Regions from separate parts of the Homo sapiens genome. Here region 2 is linked to region 1. The links are contacts of gene promoters, found by promoter capture Hi-C in blood cells and fetal thymus (Javierre and others, 2016). All regions are on one chromosome and are shown on one strand. The core of a region is centred on a gene start or on the middle of the fragment in contact, and the rest is flanking DNA. Distances in the headings are between cores, read along the strand shown. Region 1 holds the start of CDH24 (cadherin 24). Region 2 overlaps CEBPE (CCAAT enhancer binding protein epsilon).

Region 1 (5,537 bases), core at 1,303-3,802:
GGCAGGTTCTGGGGCAGACAACAAGAAGGGAAGGAGAGGTGAGAGAGCTCCAGAAGACGGGAACTGGGGCATTCAGAGCTGGGGTGCTCACCGACATTGGACATCTCGGGCACGGTGGCATGGTAGGGCCCAAGGGGAAAAATGGGTGGATTGTCGTTGATGTCTTGCACTTTGATGATGAACTCTGATGGGGGCTCCAGGGGCCGGTTGGAGGCTCGGTCCACGGCTTGGGCCAGTAGCACATATTGCGCCTTTTCCTCCCGGTCAAGGCTCTTGGTAACATGAATATTGCCTGTGGCCTCATCAATCACAAATACGGTGCCTGCCCCCTCCCCGGTCAACAGGTACTTGGTGCGGCCCTCTCCCCGGTCAACATCCGAGTGCAGCTGCAGGGGTCACGAAAAGATGGCAGAGGGCTCCAAGTACAGAGACAGGGTTAAAGAGTCTAGGTTTGGGTAGAGCGTTGGGAGTCCTGAGGGACCAAGGTCATTGCAGAAGTGATGAAGTTGCAGGGCAGGGCCTGAGGGCTTGGTGTCAGAGTAGACATGGGAGGGGTCATCCTTACCTTGCCAATGAGAACAGGCTCTGGACCAGCATATTCCTCAATGACAAAGAACTGGTTCCAGACCCAGCTCCTTCGAGTCCGCAGCAGAGCAGGCCCTGGGTGTTCCCGGGACCCTGCCCAGGCCCGGGCTGGGGCTGCCAGACGCCCCATGCAGCCCCAGCCACCCAGCCAGGCCAGCAGGAGCCTCACCAGGCCCCACATGTTTGGACTCCAGCCAGGGCTCTGTTCACTGGCCCTGGGTGCTGAGGCTGGGCCAGGCCACGTGGCCCATGAGCTGGCTGGGGTGGAGGGGCAGATGCGTTGAGGCTACCCCATGGATCCACACCTGCAGGACAAGCAGCTGCTCAGGCTCAAGGAAACCCCTAGCCCTCCTCCCCCGCAAAATTAGATGCTGAAGACCAGACCTCCAAGGAACCAGACACTCCACTGCCCAGAACTCAGACTAAGACAGAGAGCAGAGAGGCTGATCCTTCCTCCACCCAGGCTCTGCATGTATTCACCTCCAGCCCTCCAAGCTGATAAATCTCTGGTCAGTCAACTCTGAGTAGAGAACTGGGGAGGAACACAGGAGAGGGGATGCTGGGAGGGCTTGGAATCCCAAATCTGGTCTCTGTCCTCCCAGGTTGGGCACGTAGCCAGGTATTGGAGGAGGCGGGGCTACCAGAGAAAGGGCTTAAAATTACGGAGTTGGGATTCATGGAGGTGTGGCCTTAAGGTGTCTAGGGTCAGCATGAGATGACAAGGAGTGCAGCCTCAGGCAGGGCTGAGAGTCTGTGAAAGTCCCTCCCCACAAGGGGGAGCCCCACTCTCCAGGCCCTGTCTCCAGCCCACGCTGCCAGTGCAGTCCTTGAAGGGGGACTGGGCTCGTGAGACAGGAGTTGGGAGCCAGAGCTGAAGGAAGAGGATACAGGGTGGGGGACAGGGGGAGGTGACCGGGGAGAGAGGTCCACCCAGAGGCTAGAGACAGATAATGACTGACGGCTAGACTGACTCAGGGACTGTCCGGCAGAGAAATGACTGGATGAGAGACAGAAACAGAACAGTGGCAAGAGACAGAATGAGAGAGACCAGGGCAGCAGCCTGGGTGTCTGAAGGCAGAGAGGAGTCCTAGGGGCCAGGCTTGGAAACGGGTCACCGGGGGCAGTTCCGGGCAGGCAGGGGCAGACCTCAGCTTCGGGGGTGTCAAGCCAGGCCTCGGGAACTTAATTCTGGGAGAAGGAGCAGACAGGAGGGGTGGAGGCAGGGAGGGGCCACGGGAAGGGAGCTAGAGAGGAGACCCTTCCCACTGCTCTCCTTTCTCCTAGGGGCGGGGGGGAGGACCCCTCAGGTAGCTGTGGCTTCTGCCCCTCCTCCCTCAGAGCAGACACACACCTGACAGTCCCTTTGCTCCCGAGGGAAGGGGGAAACCGGAGGAAGGCTGGGGACCAGAGAGAAGGCGGGATGAGGAGGCGAGAAGGAAGGGGATAGAGGAGTGGGAAACAGGATAGCAGGAAGGGGAGAGGAGAGGGAGGGAAAGGAGAGCAAGAAAGAGAAAAGAGAAAGGCAGGAAAGGGGAGAAAGGTAGAGAAAGAAAAAGGCAAAGAGGGAGAGGAGATGGAAAAAGGACAAGAGGGAGAGGGAAGGGTTGGGGAGACAGAGGGAAGGGATAAGGAAGGCAAACAGGCAGAGAAGGAAGGGTGAAGAGAAATCGAGAGAAGAAAGAGGGAGAGAGGTGCGAGGGGAGAAGGGAAAGAGGCAGAGCGCGGGAGAAGGGAGCCGGCAGCGGGCTCCCAGCCACGGAGCGCACCCCTCCGAAGACCCCCGCAGGCTGCGGGCCCCCTCCTACCCCTCCGCGGATTCCCGACCCCTGCTCCGGGGCAGGCGCCCTTACCTGGCACTGCCGAGGGGCCCAGGCCGGCGGGAAGCGCCCCCGCCCGCCCCCGTCGCCGGGTCCCGGGGGCACAGCCCCGAGCCGATTGGAGCGGGCGCCGCGGCTCCGCTGCAGGTCTGAGCGGCCCCGGCGAGAACAAGGGAGCGAGACGGAGGGGGCGGGGGAAGAAGACTCCGCCTGCGGAGGAGCGAGGCGGCTCCGCGCCGCGCGGGAGAGGAGAGCCCAGCCTCCGACCCTCCCCGGCCAGCCGGGCCCGCGCGGCGGGGGCGGGGGCGGAGGCGGCGCCGCGCGTCCGCCCCCTCGGCGCTCCTGGGCTGCGGGGCGCATACAGATGCGGCGCCCCTCCCGGACCGGGCCCGCAGCGCCCGGCAGGGCACTCGGGCGGGAGGACGTCCAGGCCACGGCGCCAGGCCATTTCCGAAGAGCTGGCGGGGCGGGTGCACCCGGGAGCGCGAAGCTGCCAGTCCCCGCCCGCAGCGGAAAACGGGCGAGCGCGCGGTGAGGTGGGGAATTCGGAGCCCACTGCGGAGAGACCCGGCTCCGGGCTCCCGGTTCCCGGCTGGCTTTTGGGACTGGTGTGGATGGAATCCCAGCTGCAAGGCGGCGGCGTTTTGAGAGCCCATGCAAAGCACGGTAGCAGGTCAGCTGGGGGACACTTAAGGACGGCAGAAGGGTCCAGAGAGTCCGAGGCCCGGGCCCAGGGAGCGGGTCGGGAACAGAGGCACGACATCGGCGGGAGGTCGGAGGCGGGCAGTGGAACCCTTCTTGGGAAGCTCGGTTACAGGGGCCAACAGAGCGAGGAGCTGCCGCCCCCTGGTGGTAGTTGTGGGAGGCACCAAGGTGGCAGGCAGGTGACCAAACCCCTAATTTAACCGTGCACAGGACCAGGAACCAGAAGAGGACCCACCCTCCTAGCCCTGCTGGGGTGCCGCCACGGACACAGGTTGCTCCATGCCTTCCCGAATGAGGAAGGTCCACAGCTTTGGGTTGGTCAGGGCCAAGGCAGGGGATAAAAGACGTGGGAAGTTCAATAAGCAGGAAGCAGTCAGCCTAAAGGAACACATGGAATGAGAGCAACTCCTACTCCAGATATCCTCAGATGTCCACGCTCAGATATCCACAGTGGCTTCTTAACCTGCCCAAAGAAAGCCACTCACACAGTTTAAAACTAAGTCAGATTTTTATTTTTTTTTCCATAGACCACATCATTTAATAATAAAAAAAATAAAAATAAAAATTGAACAAAAGGAAAAGGTGGATATAAAGTGGAACCTGTGGGAAAGAGGCAAGGGCTGCAGGACAGAAGAGACTGGGAACTGCAGGGGCCCTGGGACTCAGGAGGAGATGCTGATTCAGCTCATAGGTGACCCAGTCCTGGCCCCGGCTGTTCCCAAGAGAAGGCTGTAAGTACCCAGGGAGGTGGTAAGCAGGATGGAGGAAAAATCAGAGGACTGGGGCACCTGGCTGTTCCCCATCTCTGGCCAACCACCTCCTTGCCTAACCTAGCTCTTGCCTCTCAGACTTAATGGGAAATGAGAGGGAGGGTCGGGCTAAGTCCCAAGAGATAGGTTAAGGGGGTGTGTTTGGGGGGAAAAGGATGGCCACTTTTCCATTTGGTATGTATGTAGGGATAGGTGATGTGAAAGACCCTTGGCTCCAGGGTGGTGGAGACTGTGCCTATCCCTCTGTGGCCATAACCCCCTGGGGCCGAGTGGCTGGTACCTGCAGCTCTAGTGTTTTCCCAGCTAGCGGCGCCCACCCCGGTCCCGCACAGGTGTGCTCCGACTCCGGCTTCTGCTGTGGCGCTTGGTGTCCCTGCGATCCCTTTCCCTGCCTCGTTCTCGGTCCCTTTCCCTATCCCGATCTCGGTCCCCCCTGTCCCGCTCCCTTTCTCTCTCTCTCTCCCTGTCCCTCTCCCGACTGTGCTCCCGACGTTTCTCTCGCTCCAGCTGTCGGTTCCGTTCCCGCTCGGCTTCCTTCTCCCGCTCCTTTTGCTCTTCTTCTTCTTGCTCCTTTCGCCGCTTCTCCCGCTCCTTGGCCCGTTCGGCCCGCTCTGCCTCTTTCTGAACGATCTGTAGCCAGGTAGGAAAGGCAGAGAATAGGCAGCTCAGTCCTGGTCACAGCCTCCATTTGTGCCTGGACCCTGCCTCCTAGCTCAGGGTCAGCTTTTCAGTTAAACAGGAAGGGGTTGGGGGCTCAACAACTGCATCCTGTCTTTCTTAGAGCACCTCTCTCCCTCCTAGTTTCAGCCTTTTTTTTTTTTTTTCTGAGACGGAGTCTCGCTCCGTCGCCCAGGCTGGGAGTGCAGTGGCACGATCTCGGCTCACTGCAAGCTCCACCTCCCGGGTTCACACCATTCTCCTGCCTCAGCCTGCTGAGCAGCTGGGACCACAGGCGCCCGCGACCACGCCCGGCTAATTTTTTTGTATTTTCAGTAGAGACGGGGCTTCACCGTTGTTAGCCAGGATGGTCTTGATCTCCTGACCTCGTGATCCGCCCGCCTCAGGCTCCCAAAGTGCTGGGATTACAGGCGTGAGCCACCGCGCCCCGCCAGTTTTTTTTTTTTTTTTTTTTTGAGACAGTCTCACTCTGTCGCCCAGGCTGGAGTGCAGTGGTGCTATCTTGGCTCACTGTGGTCTCCGACTCGCAGGTTCAAGTGATTCTCCTGCCTCAGCCTCCCTAGTAGCTGGGATTACAGGTGTCTGCCACCATGCCCCACTAAGTTTTGTATTTTTAGTAGAGATGGGGTTTCACCATGTTGGCCAGGATGGTATCAAACTCCTGGCTTAGATGGAGGCTTAGATGATCCGCCCACCTCAGCCTCCCAAAGTGCTGGGATTACAGGCATGAGCCACCATGCCTAGCCACCAAGTTTCAACTTTTACACACATTGACAGGTACTGGCACCATCCATGCCTGGCCCTTGGTATTTCCCTAGCTCCCTACCGTCAGCGTAGATGTGAACAAATCTCTTTTTTGAGTAGCATAAGCCTAAAATTCCCAAAAGGCCCATTACTAAGAAACTAAGTTAAAGATGCAAAAACTCTTAAAAAGCAGGGAAATGAATTTATAAAACACGATTTCTCAGCTAAATACAATCAA
Region 2 (5,537 bases), core at 1,259-3,758, 57 kb after region 1:
TCACTCTCACTAATCTATAAACCCCCAAAGGGCAGGGACTGTTCTCCTTATGTGTCCCATAGCTTCTATAACAAAGTGCTTGGCTTCAAGTAGGTGTTTAGTATGTATTTTTTGAGTAAATGAATGTGGTGAGAAGGCAGGAGGGAGGTGAGGGATGGAAGCGTGAGGATAGAAGATAGAAGGTGAGTAGATGGAGAGTGAGGAGAGGATGGTAATGAGGACAGTATGCAAAGGTGAGGCTGGGGATGGAGGGGAGAAGGGGTGAGGGGAGGACCAAGGAGAAGGGGTCTTTGCACTGGTGTAATGCTTCCAGACCCTGAGTGGGCTCCCAGGAGCTCTGTTTCTTGGGACCATGCTGCCTGTGAGGTTTGAAGGCAGGGCTGGAGGGAGGAGCTAGGCTTTATCTTAGGGTGCAGCCCTAACCTCAGATGGTGACAGAGCTGCAGCCAGCAGGGGTTTTGCAAACCGTCCCGATTGCAGCAGGCCAGCAGTCTCGCTGGGGACGAGCGGGTGGGGCCTGAGCTTATCTCCTGAGTACAGTCCTAACCTCAGATGGTGACAAAGCGGGAGCTAGAAGGCGTTTTGCAAACCGTCCCGATTGCAGCAAGGTTGGATAGCCTGGCCAGGGGTGACAGTGCTAGGTGTGTGTGTGGTGGTGGTGGTGGGGGGGGCGTGGTGAGCAATAGGGGTTTGGACAGTTTAGGACTCCAGGGTGAAGCTTAGCTCATGGGGCGTAGGGGATGGATCCATTCTATGTGTGGCTTGCCTCTACCTACCCCTAGAACCCTGTTTCTTCTAAAAGGGAAGCAAATCTAAGGGAAAAATCTAGTCTGTCCCTGGACCTAAAATAAATACATAAATAAATAAATAATAAAAGAGAAGCAAGAGGCTACAGCTCTGTGGTGGGTCTTTCCCTATCAAGAAGCCTGCCCCTTCCCAGGCCCTGGGACCTTTCCATTGCTCTCTGAAGTCAGAATTGATGGCCATTTTGATAAAGTTAAGTTGTAGCCATTTTCCTCTGAAAACCCACACCCTCTCCCCTTGGGGAGAATTTCTCATATGCCACTGAGGTTTTCTGAGGCCAGGCCAGGCCTGCTTATGGAAGCAGCTGACAGAGGTCAGCCAGGGGTTCTGTCCAGCTTGGGCCACTCCCATTTTGGAGCAGCTCATGCTGAGTCGGGAGGAGGGGTCTGTCTGCGGGGGGTGGGGGGTGCTGGTGAGGGTGATGGGAAGTGACTGGCCTGTCCGAGAGGAGACGCACAGGCTCTCAGCCAGCCCTGCCTATTGTTGCCTCAGCGTCTCCTGAACAGCCCCCTTCATCCCATAGTCCCCTCACTGGCTTGGAGCACGGCAGGGGGTGGAGGTGAAGAGGCCCCTTTCCACCCACAACCCCAACCGGGATCTTGCAACACTGGGATGGGGGCCCTGGGGGCCCAGGCATGTGGCAATCTGTGTAGAGGGGTGGGGAGGTGTGCACCGAGCAGGGGGGTTGGGGGCAGCTTTCACAAGCCACTGCCTCCGCTGACTGACCTTGGCAGACTCACCTTGGGCAGCTTCCTCCCTCTGCAGTGTCTCCCCACAGTCTGTCTTCTCCTCTGCAGCTTCCCTGTGGCCTAAGATCCTGTCTCTCAGCTCAGGAGTCTCATTCTGCTCCCCAGTTCTGCTCCAGAAAGAAAAGTGGGCCTGAGCTGTGGGCGCTGAAGCAATAGGACTGCATGCGTGTGCTGTTTGGACCTTGATTTGCTGGTTTTCAAACGTTATCGAGTCCCCGGTCCTGGTGCCTTTCCCCAGGCAGGGTTTGGCTAACTGCCCTTCCCTGGGCTCCTTTCTGTCATCTCCTTCCCCAGTGGGGACAACCTTACTGTGGTAAAGGTGCCAGGAGGACCAAGGGGCAGGGAAGCTGAATCCAGGGGCAGAGAGAACCCTGCTCTCCACCTGCCCCGGCTTCTTAGGCACCATCCTCCTTGACAGAGGGAATGAAAATAGTCATTTGCAACCCCTGCAGCCCCATTCTGGAGGGAAGGTGCATCTTTTTCTTACTTATCCTCTCCTTCCTTCTTTCATTCAGCATCTACTCCTGGCTTCCTTTCTCTCGGTCACCTTAGGGCTTTTGCATTTACCCTTCCCTCTGTTCACCCTTACACTCAAAGACATACCTGCCTCCTTCTCAAAATTTTTGAAGTGTCAACTAAAATGTCACTTCCTCAGAGATACCTTTCTCGGCCACCCCAGCTAAAATAGCCTCCCTACCTGTTGGTTTATGTGGTTTCCCCAATGGGCTATTCAAATGGAGTAAGCAGGAGAAGTTAATTAAGGTGCTTTATGAAGATGTGAACCAACAGTATCTGGGGAAAGTTCCTGGAGTGGTGAAGTCCCCTGGGCTAGCCCAGCACGGGGGGCGCCTGAGGGCCAGGAATCCTTTGGGAGGGACTGTGGAGAGCGCCGGTCAGCAGGGGGCTCCCACCACTCTCCTCCTGCCAGTCTCACCCCCACCCCATGAGAGGCTGGTTGATGTAGGGAGGCATCCACCTGGGGACTGTGTAGGGTGATGAAGGGTGGAGAGGGTTCTGGAGGGGCAAAGGAAGACATTCAGCACACTTGTTTATTGACTTTTTCTTCCTACTCCTTCTGCTGAGAACTTGTCTCATTCCTAGAAAAGATACTCAACAAATACTTGTTGAATAAGTTACGTTGGCCAAAACCAATTGAGGTCAGATTGAAAGCCTCTTTCAGGAAGTGTGCCCTCTGGCTCTGACTCACACCCCTGGAATATGATCTGATGCAGAGGATTGGGATGTGTTCAGCTGCTGCACGTCACGCTGGGATCACAGTGGGGAGACGGGGATGTGACTCCCCCAGACTGGGTGCCAGTCAGGAAGGCTCCACTAGGCACCGGCCCTGAGGACCTGACTGGGTGAGCGGGGGCCTGAGAGGAGAAGCAATTCAGAGCTGTGGGAACAAAGCCTGGGCTTCATGCTGAAGCAACCCAGGTCCCATCACCCAGAACCTTGAAAGTAAGTCAAGGGACAGTGGTCTTGAGCTGAGAGGAGGAAATCCGGAGGTTGAGTCATTTACCATGTTCTGTACAAACCCCCCTTATGCAACCTATCCCCCTGGGCTGAAAGGAAGGTGTGAGGATTCTCCCAGGTGCCCACAGAGACTGGTACCTCCCCTCCTTCTGAACTCAGGAAGCTCCAGTCGGTCCCTCCACTGAAGGTTCAGATCTCTCCCTCCAAACCAGACCTGGGGCACGGGCCTCCAGGACACAGAGGTGCCCGAGAGACACAGAGGCAAAGGCAGGAAAAGGACTGAGTCCTGGGCAAGGTAGACATGCCGCACACGGATGCCCGAGGTGTGGGAGGGCTCTACCGCTGGAGATTTGAAGAAGGGAGAGAGATCTGGGATGATCCAGACACCAGTCTCTCACCTTCTCAGAAAATTATTCCTTGATGTCTGACTCAGCCTTTCACAGCATTGGCTTAGGAGAGACTTTAAGAAGCCCGTAATCTGTCCCTGGGTCCCTGACACTGTTGGGCACTGTTCTTTATTGAATGTGATTCATGTGACACTCGTACTGAGGATCTGTGAGAAGAGTGTAGCGTGGAGTAGAGAGACAGGTACCACGTACTGAGGCAGCAAAGGGACTCAGTGAGTGTCAGGAGAAGCCTCTTACCCCTCTGGCCCTCAACTGCTTTATCTGTAAAATGTGGCTCACCCTACCTTGCTGGTCTGAGGGCAGAGCCCACCAGATGATCTCTTGAGGTCTCTCCCAGCACATCTTGAGATCTGCGATTTTACAGAGCCAATTTTGGTTCTACCTCTAAACAATCGTGTGACTCCAGGTAAGTCCCTTCCCCTCTTTGCAGCCTGTTTTCTTACCTGCAAAATGAGTTTAGATGAGATCTCTGAGGTCCTTTCAGTTCCAGCAAAATGGAGGAATCATAATAAATATGCTTATTACATGCAAAGTTTTCTTTTTCTATGAATATAACAACACTACGGAGTGGGGACAAATATTGCAACCATTTTGCAGATGAGGAAACTGAGGCACAGAAAGACATAATGGCTCAAGGCTCACAGCTAGTAAGTAGCAGTGTAAGATTCAAACTGAGGCTCTTAATTATTGTACCATTCTGTCTCTTAGGCTGTAGTCCAATGCAAAAGAAAATGCTGTTTCGAATGATGGGTTTCCCTGGCACGGGCAGATTGTCATCCTCCTTCTCACTACCAGTGTTCTCATACACAAATCCGGTCTCCAGGTCTTTCCCAACCGATTCCTGTCCCATGCACTCAATTCTCAAGCTTTAGGGAACTGGAGCCTCAGGGATGAGGGACAAAGGATGGAAATGAATGGGTGGGAGCAGCGTGGGGAGGGTGTCCATCTGGTAGACTGAGGCTTTGGAAATGGAGAGAAGAGATGGCGGGCTGGATCAAGGGACCATAAATATGGCAGAGCCATCAGGAATTTTCCCATGGTCACCTGGGGCAGGAGCTCCCAGACCTATACCTCAAGGTGAGAGAGAGTGGGCCTGGGATCAGCAGGCCTGGGCATGAAGGACTGTGTGGTGCCGGGATCTCCCTACAAGCTGAAGATCTTTGTTAGCAGAGCATACAAAGGTGCTCCAGGTCCTGTGGGGGGCGGGGATGTGCCTTCAGCTCACAGAAGGGGGTGATGGGGGATGTCAGGGAGAGAAGAGCAGAGTGACAGATACACGGCCTGGCTGTGTGGTATATTGGGGGTGGGCTGTGGACAGCATGTCTGTGTTTCCACATGTCCACTTGGTCATGGAAACAAGAGGTGCAGACCTAGCCACATGCATCCTCTGTCCCCAGGGTCCTCCATGACACACACACACACACACACACACACACACACACACACACAGCCAACAGTCCCAACACCCAGTCACAGTGCAACTTTATTCAGCCATATAATCATTATGCTGGGTCCTGCCCTCTTTGCCACCCCGGTTGCCATTTATCCATGGTCTATGTCTCAGGGTTCTAGGCCCCCAGCAGGATGGGGGTCCGCAGAGTTAGGCCGTGCCAGGGAGCCTGGTGCCCACAATCCACCAGCCAGCCTCAGCTGCAACCCCCCACGCCCTTGATGAGGTTGGCCGCCTCAGGAATCTGGCGGAAGAGGTTGCGGAGGGTGTCTAGCTCCTGGGTGAGCTGCTCCACGCGGCTGCGGAGGCGCTCGTTCTCTGCCATGTACTCCAGCACCTTCTGCTGCGTCTCCAGAATGCGCCTCTTGGCCTTGTCTCGGCTCTTGCGCACGGCGATGTTGTTGCGCTCCCGCCTCAGCCGGTACTCAAGGCTATCTTTGTTCACTGCCTTCTTGCCCTTGTGTAAGGGGCCAGCCGGGGAGGGCGCCTTCAGGAGGGGACTGCAGGGGGGTGCGGCAGTGGCCAAAGGGGCCTGGAGGGGAAGGCACGGAGAGACGGAGAGGTGAGGGCTGGCCAGGAGGCAGAGCGGAGGCGGGGCGGGAATCTCGGCAGCCAGGGCACACTTGATGCGTCAAAGGAATACAGGACTCA

Evidence for each region. Contacts are between HindIII fragments. The CHiCAGO score rates a contact against its expected background, and 5 or more counts as called.
Region 2: a fragment that was not itself captured here is called in contact with the fragment with the promoter of CDH24 in region 1 in 3 of 17 cell types (M2 macrophages, M0 macrophages and M1 macrophages); the score reaches 9.0 in M2 macrophages.

The regions. Positions count from the first base shown.
Region 1 is chr14:23,054,968-23,060,504 of GRCh38, forward strand. CDH24 (cadherin 24) reads right to left here and starts at 2,553. Exons shown (of 13, transcript NM_144985.4): 1 at 2,436-2,553; 2 at 566-890; 3 at 92-386. The coding sequence starts at 766. It overlaps ACIN1 (apoptotic chromatin condensation inducer 1), which reads right to left. Exons shown (of 19, transcript NM_001386863.1): 19 at 3,597-4,507. The coding sequence ends at 4,181. LOC105370705 (collagen alpha-2(I) chain-like) reads left to right here and starts at 2,693. Exons shown (of 2, transcript NR_169511.1): 1 at 2,693-3,075; 2 at 3,318-3,682. RefSeq lists silencers at 2,433-2,552, 2,633-2,782. The HindIII fragment of the contact is 16,339 bases long and covers 1-5,537 here.
Region 2 is chr14:23,112,405-23,117,941 of GRCh38, forward strand. CEBPE (CCAAT enhancer binding protein epsilon) reads right to left here. Exons shown (of 2, transcript NM_001805.4): 2 at 4,902-5,418. The coding sequence ends at 5,083. Among named protein-coding and RNA genes, the nearest start is that of CEBPE, 4.1 kb to the right of the region's middle. RefSeq lists enhancers at 1,478-2,196, 2,362-3,561. The HindIII fragment of the contact is 3,584 bases long and covers 717-4,300 here.